Regions from separate parts of the Homo sapiens genome. Here region 1 is linked to region 2. The links are contacts of gene promoters, found by promoter capture Hi-C in human tissues and cell types (Jung and others, 2019). All regions are on one chromosome and are shown on one strand. Each heading gives the region's core, a stretch centred on a gene start or on the middle of the fragment in contact. The rest is flanking DNA. Distances are from core to core; before and after follow the strand shown. Region 1 has its middle 12 kb from the start of MIR4425. Region 2 holds the start of ZNF683 (zinc finger protein 683).

The links. The method cuts DNA at HindIII sites, captures the fragments that hold promoters and counts their contacts. A contact is called where the count stands out against the background at its distance.
Region 1: a fragment that was not itself captured here is called in contact with the fragment with the promoter of ZNF683 in region 2 in 1 of the 25 tissues and cell types used here (aorta).

What each region holds. Positions count from the first base shown.
Region 1 is chr1:25,008,711-25,013,753 of GRCh38, reverse strand. No RefSeq gene overlaps it. Among named protein-coding and RNA genes, the nearest start is that of MIR4425, 12 kb to the left of the region's middle. The HindIII fragment of the contact is 7,313 bases long and covers 1-5,043 here.
Region 2 is chr1:26,371,431-26,375,950 of GRCh38, reverse strand. ZNF683 (zinc finger protein 683) reads left to right here and starts at 3,201. Exons shown (of 6, transcript NM_001114759.3): 1 at 3,201-3,282. The HindIII fragment of the contact is 13,714 bases long and covers 1-4,520 here.

The sequences.
Region 1 (5,043 bases), core at 654-3,153, 1.4 Mb after region 2:
TTTGTTTCACTGAGCACCTGCTCTGCCCTCTCCCCTGAGAATGGGAAGGAAACTGTGCAAGGTGCCACAGCAGCAAGAGCCACGGCCTGGATTCGAGCTCGGGAACATTAGACACCAAAGCTCTAAGCCCTCCAAGCCCTGGGTGGACTGTGATGGGCAGACAGGTCCTGGCAGGGTTCCTGGAGTGAGGCAGCTGCTGTGAAGGTGGCAGTGGGAGGTGACACCTGTCAGAATCCAGAAAGCCTGGGTGCAGGCCCTGGGCTGTCAGTAAAGAGGAGGTGAGGTGTCTCCACTTGTGCCGGACCCAGGCTGGTGTCAGGACAGCAGGAGGTGTGGGTCTTCAGGTCCAGAGAACGCCTCAGGCCTGGTGTGGGTAGCACTGGTGACTGTGACGTGTCACCTGACACATGACTCCAGGTGACTGAGCATCTACTGCCTCTCCACCTCTGTTCCAGGCACTTCCTGCCCACTAACACAACTATCCAGAAAGCAGGACTACCACATCCCCATTTTACAGATGAAGACGCCAAGGAACAGAGAGGTCTAGTCAATTGCCCAAGGTCACAAAGCTAGGAAGGAGCAGAGTCACCGTCAAAGTCCAGACCCCCACCCTTGAACAGCTGTGCCATCCACCTCAAGTGTAGATACCTGCATGAAACCAAGAGGATCTGACATCTAGACTCTTGAACCTGCTGCCCGGGTTCAAATCCCAGCTCTGCCACTTACCGGCTGTAGGACCTTGGGCAACCGACTCAACCTCTCTGTGTATTCCAGTTTCCCCATCCATGAAATGGGGATAAAAATCAAGTACCTCCCTTAGGGGTACTTTGATGCTTAATATATCAAGTAGCCCGGCCCAGAGCAGGCCCCAGGAAAGAGTGGACTGTGGAAATTCACGTGGGGAATTTTTCATGGGAAAAATCTTTCATGGGAAGATAGTATATGCGGGATGGTCAGCAGTGGTTACTTTGGGAGTGGAATGGCAGGAGGCTTCCACTTTGTAATCACCACACTTCAACACATTCTCTGTTTTTACCTATGTTGTGATATATATTTTTTAAATAAAGAAAACTCTCTGAGCTGGGTGTGAGTGGGTGTCAAGACGTCTCTTGTGGCTAGTAAGTTGCTCTCTTTAGAGAAAAAAACAGGGCATTTTTATTGTACTTCACATAATCTGAGACACAGCTCATGGGGGTGCACAGAGGCCATGTCATTTCCATTCAGAGTGACAGGAAACAATCTGGCCCTCACTGGGCGCTCCATGCACAGGGCTGTGGGAGGAGCGCCAGCCCTGGAGCCCAGGACGTAGGTATCAGCCTCCTGTTCTGCCCCAACTTGTGATGAAATCTTTATTTGTTTGCTCAGCAAACTCCCCCTGCTGCTTCCTTGGTGCCAGGCCCTGGACTCCAGGGCTCTGAGTGTCCACTTCTCACTTGCGCCTACTGCGAATCCTGGAGACAAAAGGTAGGACAAGGCAGAAGCAGTCCCTGTCCCTCTGTGACCTGCAACCCAGCAAGGGAAGCCAGCACTATCAAATCATCCCACAAGCAAAGGTCAAATTACCACCTAATGAGTGTGGGAGTGGGGGGCGGGAGTGATGGAGAATAGGCGCTTGGAGAACCTCCCTGGGGACAGAGAATGATCAAGGCGAGGGGAAGTGCTCCTACAGATGAAGGGTGCACTGCCATGGGGAGCTAGAACGGCGTAAGCAAAGGTCAGGCAGTGCAAGGGATCCTCGTGAACCTGAGGGAGTGAGAGTGCCAATGGAATGAAGATGCTGACGGGGAGCTCGGTGTGAGACAAGAAGGAGGGGGGCAGGGCCAGGCCACAGAGGACATTGTAGCAGGGATCTGACCTTTATTCCAAGAGCCAGAGGCCATGAAGGGGATTAGGGACGGGGGCTAAAGATTTCATCCGAGATCCCCCTAGAGCATGGGGAGAAGGGAATGGGTGGAGGGTCAGAGTGGACCCCTGCCAATCTCCAGTTCTTCGAACTGCACAGGCCTGTACACAGCAGCATCAATAAATGGCTCTTTTCTCGGATCCATTCTTCTTCAACTCATGGAAGTAAAATTTAGATCTCAATTTTTATTATTTATTTAATGACTTCTTTTTCTGAACACAAAATATGTAGTCTAGAGTGCAAAGCGATAGGAAATTACCAAATTTGATGAGCTGCTGTGGGAATTAGGGGTTCGGCTCACTTCCTGAGGTTTTCTCAAAGGGAGAACCAGGGACAGAGGGTGCAGCTATGAGAATAAGGAAGAAGCCCTAAGCCTGTTTTAGGAGCTGTTCTAAGATCCCCAAGTTCCTTGATAGGTAGTGAGTTCCCTATTTCCGGGGCACACGTAAGCTGTCAAAGTATAATTTCAAAAAAAATAGAGTAAAAGCATAACTCTCATTCAAATATAGGTTGAACACATGTCAAAATTTGTTTAACTCCTGAATGAGGGAACCAGTAAGAAGATAAAGCTGATTCAAAGGAGAAGTAGAGGAATAGCACTACAGAATACTGGGAAAAGAATACTGGAATACAATGGCTCAGTGAGATACAAAACTGGTTAATGTCCTGATGGGCCAGAAGTCCGTAACTTTTGGGGCATTTTCTACTGGACAGAAATCTATATATTAACATATAACTTCTAAAGTCTGGTCTTCTAATGGCTCATACTAAGTCAAAGGTACCTTCCTCTAGATAATTAAATACTATCTTAGTCTGTTTGGGGAGCTATAACAAAATACCATAAACTGGGTAATGCATAAACCACAGATATTTATTTCTCACGGTTCTGGAGGCTGGGAAATCCAAGATCAAGGCGTCTGGTGAGGGCCCGTGTTCTCATAGATGGTGCCTTCCCGCTGTGTCTTCACTTGGTGGAAGGGGCAAGGCAGCTTTCTGGGGCCTCTTTTATAAAGACACTAATTCTATTCATGAGGACTCCACACTCATGATTCAATGACCTCCTAAAGGCCCTTCCTCCTAACCCCATCCCATTGGTGATTAAATTTCAACATATGAATTTTGCAAAGACACAAACATTCAGACCATAGCAGATACCCTTAGTGGGCCTGCTAAACAACACCCCAATATGACATTGAAAAGACCTGCTGCCCTGTCTTTGCCTATTTCCAAGTTTTGGGTAATTTTTCTTAACAAAGCTGGAGCAAATGGCTGCAGTGAGAGGCTGCAGGAGAGTTCTGGTGGTGGAGGGGCTGGCTGGCATGTTATCTTTTGCTGTGTAAAAGATTACCCCAAAACCTGCTGGCTTAAAACAATAAACATTTATTATGTTGCAATTTCTGCAGGCCAGGAATTCGAGAGCAGCTCAGCTGGGCATTTCTTGCTCAGGGTCTCTCAGGAGGCTGCGATCATGTGTCAGCTTGGACTACACTCATCTGAAGTCTTGACTGGGGCTGGCAGACCTGCACCCAAGGTGGTGCACTCACACAGCTGGCAAGGTGGTGCAAACTGTTGGCTGGCCTTGCCATGTGGGCCTCTCCATGGGTTGCTTGAATGTCCTCACAGCATGGCAGCCAGCTTCTCTCAGAGCAAGTGATCGATCCCAGAGAGAAGTAAAGCAGAAAAGTAGTATGCCTTTAATGACCTAGCCTCAGAAGTCACACTCATTCATTTCTGCAGTAGCCTATTGCCTACAGAAGTCAGCCCTGCCCAGTGTGGGTGGGGACTTCCTAAGGGAGGTGGTTAAGGGCCTTGTCAGTTTTGGAGACTGGTTCCTGCACTGGGCACCTTCAGGGTGCCTCAAGCCAGAGGCTGGAGTTGGTGCCGGTAGCAAGCAGGGATTGCCTTCAGCTGTATCACTGCCCAGGCTCCTTCCTATTCACCTGCTTGCAGCTGCTACACAGTGTAGGGCCTGGGACAGATGGCTCTGCTTTGGAGTCTCTCATTGTAGCACCTGGTTGTGTCTTCTGAGTAGCTTTCCCACCCCAGAATCTCAGCCCACAACAAAGTCTGTCTCTGGGAGAGTGCAGACGGTCAATCATTCACACCTTAGTATGAATGAGTTCATCAAACTTCACCTCTGGCAGTAGAAAAAATGTGAGATTTGGGATGGGAGCTGGGGCAGAGGGGTGTCGAGGTTGTAGGGAGGGTGGGTTGAGCAGTAGCCTTTCTGGGGAGTGGCAGAGGAGACTGTCTTGGAGGGAGCATTCAAAGGGGGACACCTCAGGCAGCACATGGGAGACTCCCTGAAAGCCAGTGGGGAGAGGAGGACCCAGGAGGCTGCCCACTGCTGAGGGTCACGGGAATCACCAAGTACCCAGGTGAGGGCATCAGGAGAGGGCAGAGCATGGCAAAGAGAAGCTTCTGTTCCTGGTGGTTTGACCCTGGCTGCCCGTCAGGACATGCCTGGCTGCCTGCTGGTGTGTCTGATTGAGGGGTGGTCTGCAGACCAGCAGAGCCAGACATAGCATCTGGGCCACCCTGGGCTCCCAGGGAAGTGAGGAAGGAAGGAGGATCCCACTTTGCCCATGCAGGCTGGCAACAGCCAGGGTTGGGAGTGTGACCAACCAAGAGACGCATTTCCCAGAGGCCTCCCGAGGCTTCAGGCCCAAGGCTGACCCGAAGCTTCCAGGCAAGGCAGCTGGAAAGAAGAGCCGGCGGTCCAGGGTGCAGACCTGGCCCTGTCCTCCACTGCACTCTGCTGAGCCATCAGACGGCTTCCTTCCCCGCCCTGGTTCCCAGCTCCCATCTGTGGAGCAGCTCGGGGCACTGCAATGGCCAGCTCAGGGAACATTCCCTCCTCTGTCCTCTCCTCTTGGCCAATCCTCATCAGAGGAGGAGGTGGGCAACCGGGAGAGAGGGTAATGGCCCCAGGGGACCCCATGCCCAGCAGATGCCCAGAGTCTGATCTGGGGTAGGTAGCCTCAGGGCGAGCCCAGGGGCACATCCAGCTGGGATATAAAGCTTATGGAAATGTCCCAGAGACGTTCATTTGAGGAGAAAGGGGGAGGAAGTCTGCCAGTTTGGGGGGTAATTATTTTGCAAAACTTTATGAAGTTTCCGAAAATCTTGTTTCCCCCTTC
Region 2 (4,520 bases), core at 1,952-4,451:
AGCCAAGATCACACCACTGTACTCCAACCTGGGAGGCAGAGTCAGATTCTGTCTCAAAAAAAAAAAAAAAGAAAAGAAAAGAAAAGAAAACCCGGAAGAGCAATGTGCATCAATATATTCCCATGTTTGTATAAAACACAATTTAGCCTTTCAGCCCCTATGCTCAGGCCCACTCCAACACTGTGGAGTGTACTTTATTTTCAATAAATCCCTTCATTTCTTCGTTGCTTTGTTTCTGCTTTTTGTCCAATTCTTTGTTCAAGATGCCAAGAACCTGGACACCCCCCACCAGTGACATATTTTGGCCAGCCAGCCCGGAGGAAGGGCCGCTCAGGGAAAGAGAGCCCAGAAACCTGGCATACCAGCAAAAGGAGGCCATCAAGCTTCAGATGATCATGCAACAAAGGCTCCAGCCAGTCCAGGTGAAGACACCACCCCTGGCCATCAAGAAGCTACCCTGCCTCCACTAGACAGAACAAGGTGAGGGTTCCATGATCCCCAATAAGTAGGGACTACGCCCCATGCCAGCATGAAGCAGTCCCAGGAAAAAGACCATCGGTCCCTCTGCCTCCCGTGAAGATTTACGGGGACCACAATCACATCTCTTAGCGGGGAGATGAGGCAGGAAAATAGGGGCTGGAGGCAGGAAACATAAGGCCAATTCACACTTCAGCTCTGACAGGAAATAGCTTCTCCCTGAGTACATGACATTGTAACTTTACTTCATTCTCTTCATTTACATAGGGCGTACCACAAGCAGAAGGTATTTAAACTCTCAAAAACTCTGTAATGGGGCCTTTGAGCCCCTATGCTCAGGCCTGCTCCCACACTGCAGAGTGTACTTTCATTTTCAATAAGTCACTTCATTCCTTAGGAAAAAAAAAAGCAATTAAAAAAATCAATTTACCTGTTTGTTGGTTCATAGAAAAATGTCTGGAAGGGTAAACACTAAACAATTCACATTGACCACTGGGAAATTGCGAAGGAGGAGGAGCTTCCATTTTTCGTTTTTACATTTTCTGTTGTTTGAAATGTTTACCACTAGTATGTATTATTTTGCAACTAACGAAAGGAAGAAGAAAGTGTGCAGTGAGCACCGGGAGCCCAAGGACCCAGCCCCTCCAGCTCTTGTCCCCTAATGTGGAGGCACCTCCTCTTCAGAGGCCTCCCGAATGTGCCCCTTGCACCTGGAGTCAGCTCCCTACTCCCCCTCTGTCCGCACTTCCCAAACCCACTCTGGTGATCATGGGCTTTCCTTGGCTTGGGTCTCTGGTCTGGGTCAAGGCATCTGCTCAGGTTCCTCAGTTAGAAGACCATGGTCCTCCCTCTGTGCTACCTCCCCAGGGCATGTGGGACAAAGTGACATCACATTTAGGCCTGTGACATCACAGGGCATGGATGACACAAGACAGATGATCTGGGAGATGACAGCAAGGAAGGGCTTGGCAGGCAGAGGCTTCTCCACGTGGGAACCTGAGGGAGTCTGTCCTCAGCCCACCTCCTGGGGCATTTCCTAGCCAAGCCAGGGAGCTTTCAGGATTGGAGACCTGGAAATCTCCAAGGCCATTTCCTTTTTTATTTTTTTCTAACAGAGAGGTTGTGCAAAGTGTTCTGAGAGCTGGGAGCAGAGTGTGATGCCAGGAGGGAGCACAGCTGGCAGATGGAAGCCAAAGGTGTGTGGGGAAGTGCCTTGGAGGGGAGGAAACTTCACTCGGTGCCCCTCACTTCCCTGTGATTCCCAGCAAGACAGCAGGGGAGGCGGGCTTGTGGCCTGGGGGTCTGAGAGGGCTCTTCCTTTTAGGGAGTAGAGTTTTGGTGAACTAAGCCCCTCCATTACGCTGAAGGATACTGAGGGGGCCACTGAGGAGTTGGGGGAAGGACTGGGAACAGCATGTGGGAAGAGAGAGCAAGAAAGAAAGAAATGAGGGGGTGGCTGTCGTAGTGGGGGAAGCTGACATGGCCAAGAGATGGCAGAGTCTGAGGTTTACCACTAAAGAGCTCTTGGCTACTTGTTGTGTGACTCTGGATGAGCTGCTAATAATAAAATCCACCACACAGGCTTATTGTGAAGACTAAATGAGATAAAGTTTATGAAGCCCCTAGCACAGTGCCAGACACAGCAAGAAAGCTGTTTGTAAAGGTGGCTATTTACTCTGTTCCTTGGACAATTCCAGCTGGAACCCTGTTACTTTATCTTCTATTCTGGGCATGTATAATGCAGAATTATCAGTTGTAAGCTACAAAAACCATTTCAGGAGGAGTTAAGCAGAAGGAATTTGTTTAAAAGATGTTAGAAAAGCTCGCAGGAGGTCTGAGAAGGCTGGAGAGCAAGGCTTGGAGAATAGGATGGATCAAGGGAGGCTGGAAGTAGACAGGACCATGGCCAAATATCACACCCCAGGACCAGCCCTGCACAGATTCTGCAGCCTCCCCTGAACCCCCTTCTTTCCTTCACTGCCCTGGAAGCCGGATGTGGTACCACAGCCTTTGTTGTAGAGAGGAGTTTCCACAGACCTGCCACCTCAGGACCAGTGGCTTTTTTTATTGTATTTTATTTTATTTTGAGATGGAGCCTCACTCTGTTGCCCAGCCTGGAGTGTAGCAGAGCCATCTCAGCTCACTGCAACCTCCGCCTCCCGGGTTCAAGCAATTCTCCTGCCTCAGTCTCCCAAGTAGCTGGAAATACAGGCACGTGCCACCACACTTGGCTAATTTTTGTATTTTTGTAGAGATGGGGTCCCACCATGTTGGCCAGGCTGGTCTTGAACTCCTGACCTCAAGTGATCTGCCCGCCTCGGCCTCCCAAAGTCCTGGGATTACAGGCGTGAGCCACTGCGCTCAGCCAGTGGCACTAGCTTCTGATCTGCTAGTCTACTGGGCTGCAGTGGAGATTAATGGCTGCTTGGGGCTTTTGTACCCTGGGCCAGACTCACGCACACCAGAATTTGTGTGAGGCCACAGGGGTTATGCCTCTTCTCATGCTCACAAGACTCGGCTTGGCAAGGAAATGTCCCAGGAGGTGGGCTAAGACAGACTCCCTCAGGTTCCCACATGGAGCAGCCTCTGCCTGCCAAGCCCTTCCTTGCTCTCGTCTCCCAGATCATCTGTCTTGTCAGCCTCCATGCCCTGTGATGTCACAGGCCTAAATGTGATGTCACTTTGTCCCACATGCCCTGGGGAGGTAGCACAAAGGGAGGACCATGGTCTTCTAACTGAGGAACCTGAGCAGATGCCTTGACCCAGACCAGAGACCCAAGCCAAGGAAAGCCCATGATCACCAGAGTAGGTTGGGAAGTGCGGATAGAGGGGAAGTAGTTTTTATTTTTTTCTAACAGAGAAGTTGTGCAAGGTGTTCTGAGAGTTGGGAGCAGAGTGTGATGCCAGGAGAGGGCAGAGCTGGCAGATGGAAGCCAAAGGTGTGCGGGTCACCCCTTCTGGGTGGGGACATCTGATCGACCTAGTCCATGTATGCCTGCATGAAGTGCTGGTGAGGGAGGTTGGAATTAAGTATTTGGCCATTTCGGCTTTTATAATGGGAGGTACCTTTTGCCTCCCTCAAGACTCATGTAGGGGAAAAGTTTCAGAGGCTGGGCGTCCAAAAAAACCTGACAGATGTCTACATGGAAAACCAAAATGAGTAGACAGAGGACCCTGTCCTTGAGATGCTCACAAACATGTTGGGATCAGTTATGTGGAGGATGAGTCACAGCCCTAGGGGCTGAGCTGGCAGAGAAACCCCAGGAACATGCCCCAGCCCATGGTGCACAGCCTGAGATGTCCCTGTATATTCTGGGACACCAGGGTGGCGTGGCTGGGGTGCAGATTGATGGCTGGTTGGGGCTTTTGCACCCTGGGCCAGACTCACGCACACCAGAATTTGTGTAAGGCCGCAGGGGTGATGCCTCTTCTCATGCTCACAAGAATAATGACATTGCTCAGGCTAAAAAGCCACTTTCTGGCCTATGAGGTCTCCCTTTTTGTATCTAGACATGTCTTTTCCTTATTTATTAACTTTTTTTAAGACAGGGTCTCGCTCTGTCACCCAGGCTGGAGTGCAGTGGCATGATCTCAGCTCACTGCAGTCTCGACCTCCCTGGCTCAAGTGATCCTCCCACCTCAGCCTCCTGAGTAGCTGGAACAACAGGCATGCGCTACCATGCCTGGCTAATTTTTGTATTTTTTGTAGAGATGGTGTTTCACCATGTTGCTCATGCTGGTCTTGAACTCCTGGGCTCAAGCAGTTGGCCCACCTCAGCCTCCCAAAGTGCTGGGATTACAGATGTGAGCCACCACACCTGGCCTAGTCATGCCTTACACCCATTTTGCTATGTCTATTTTTTTTTTTTTTAAAGAGACAGGGTCTTTCTCTGTCACCCAGGCTAGAGTGCAGTGGCAATATCCTAGTTCACTGCAGCCTTATATTCCTGGGCTCAAGTGATCCTCCTGCCTCAGCCTCCTGAGTAGCTGGGACCAGAGGTGCAAGTCACCATGCCCAGCTAAGTTTTGTATTTTTTGTAGAG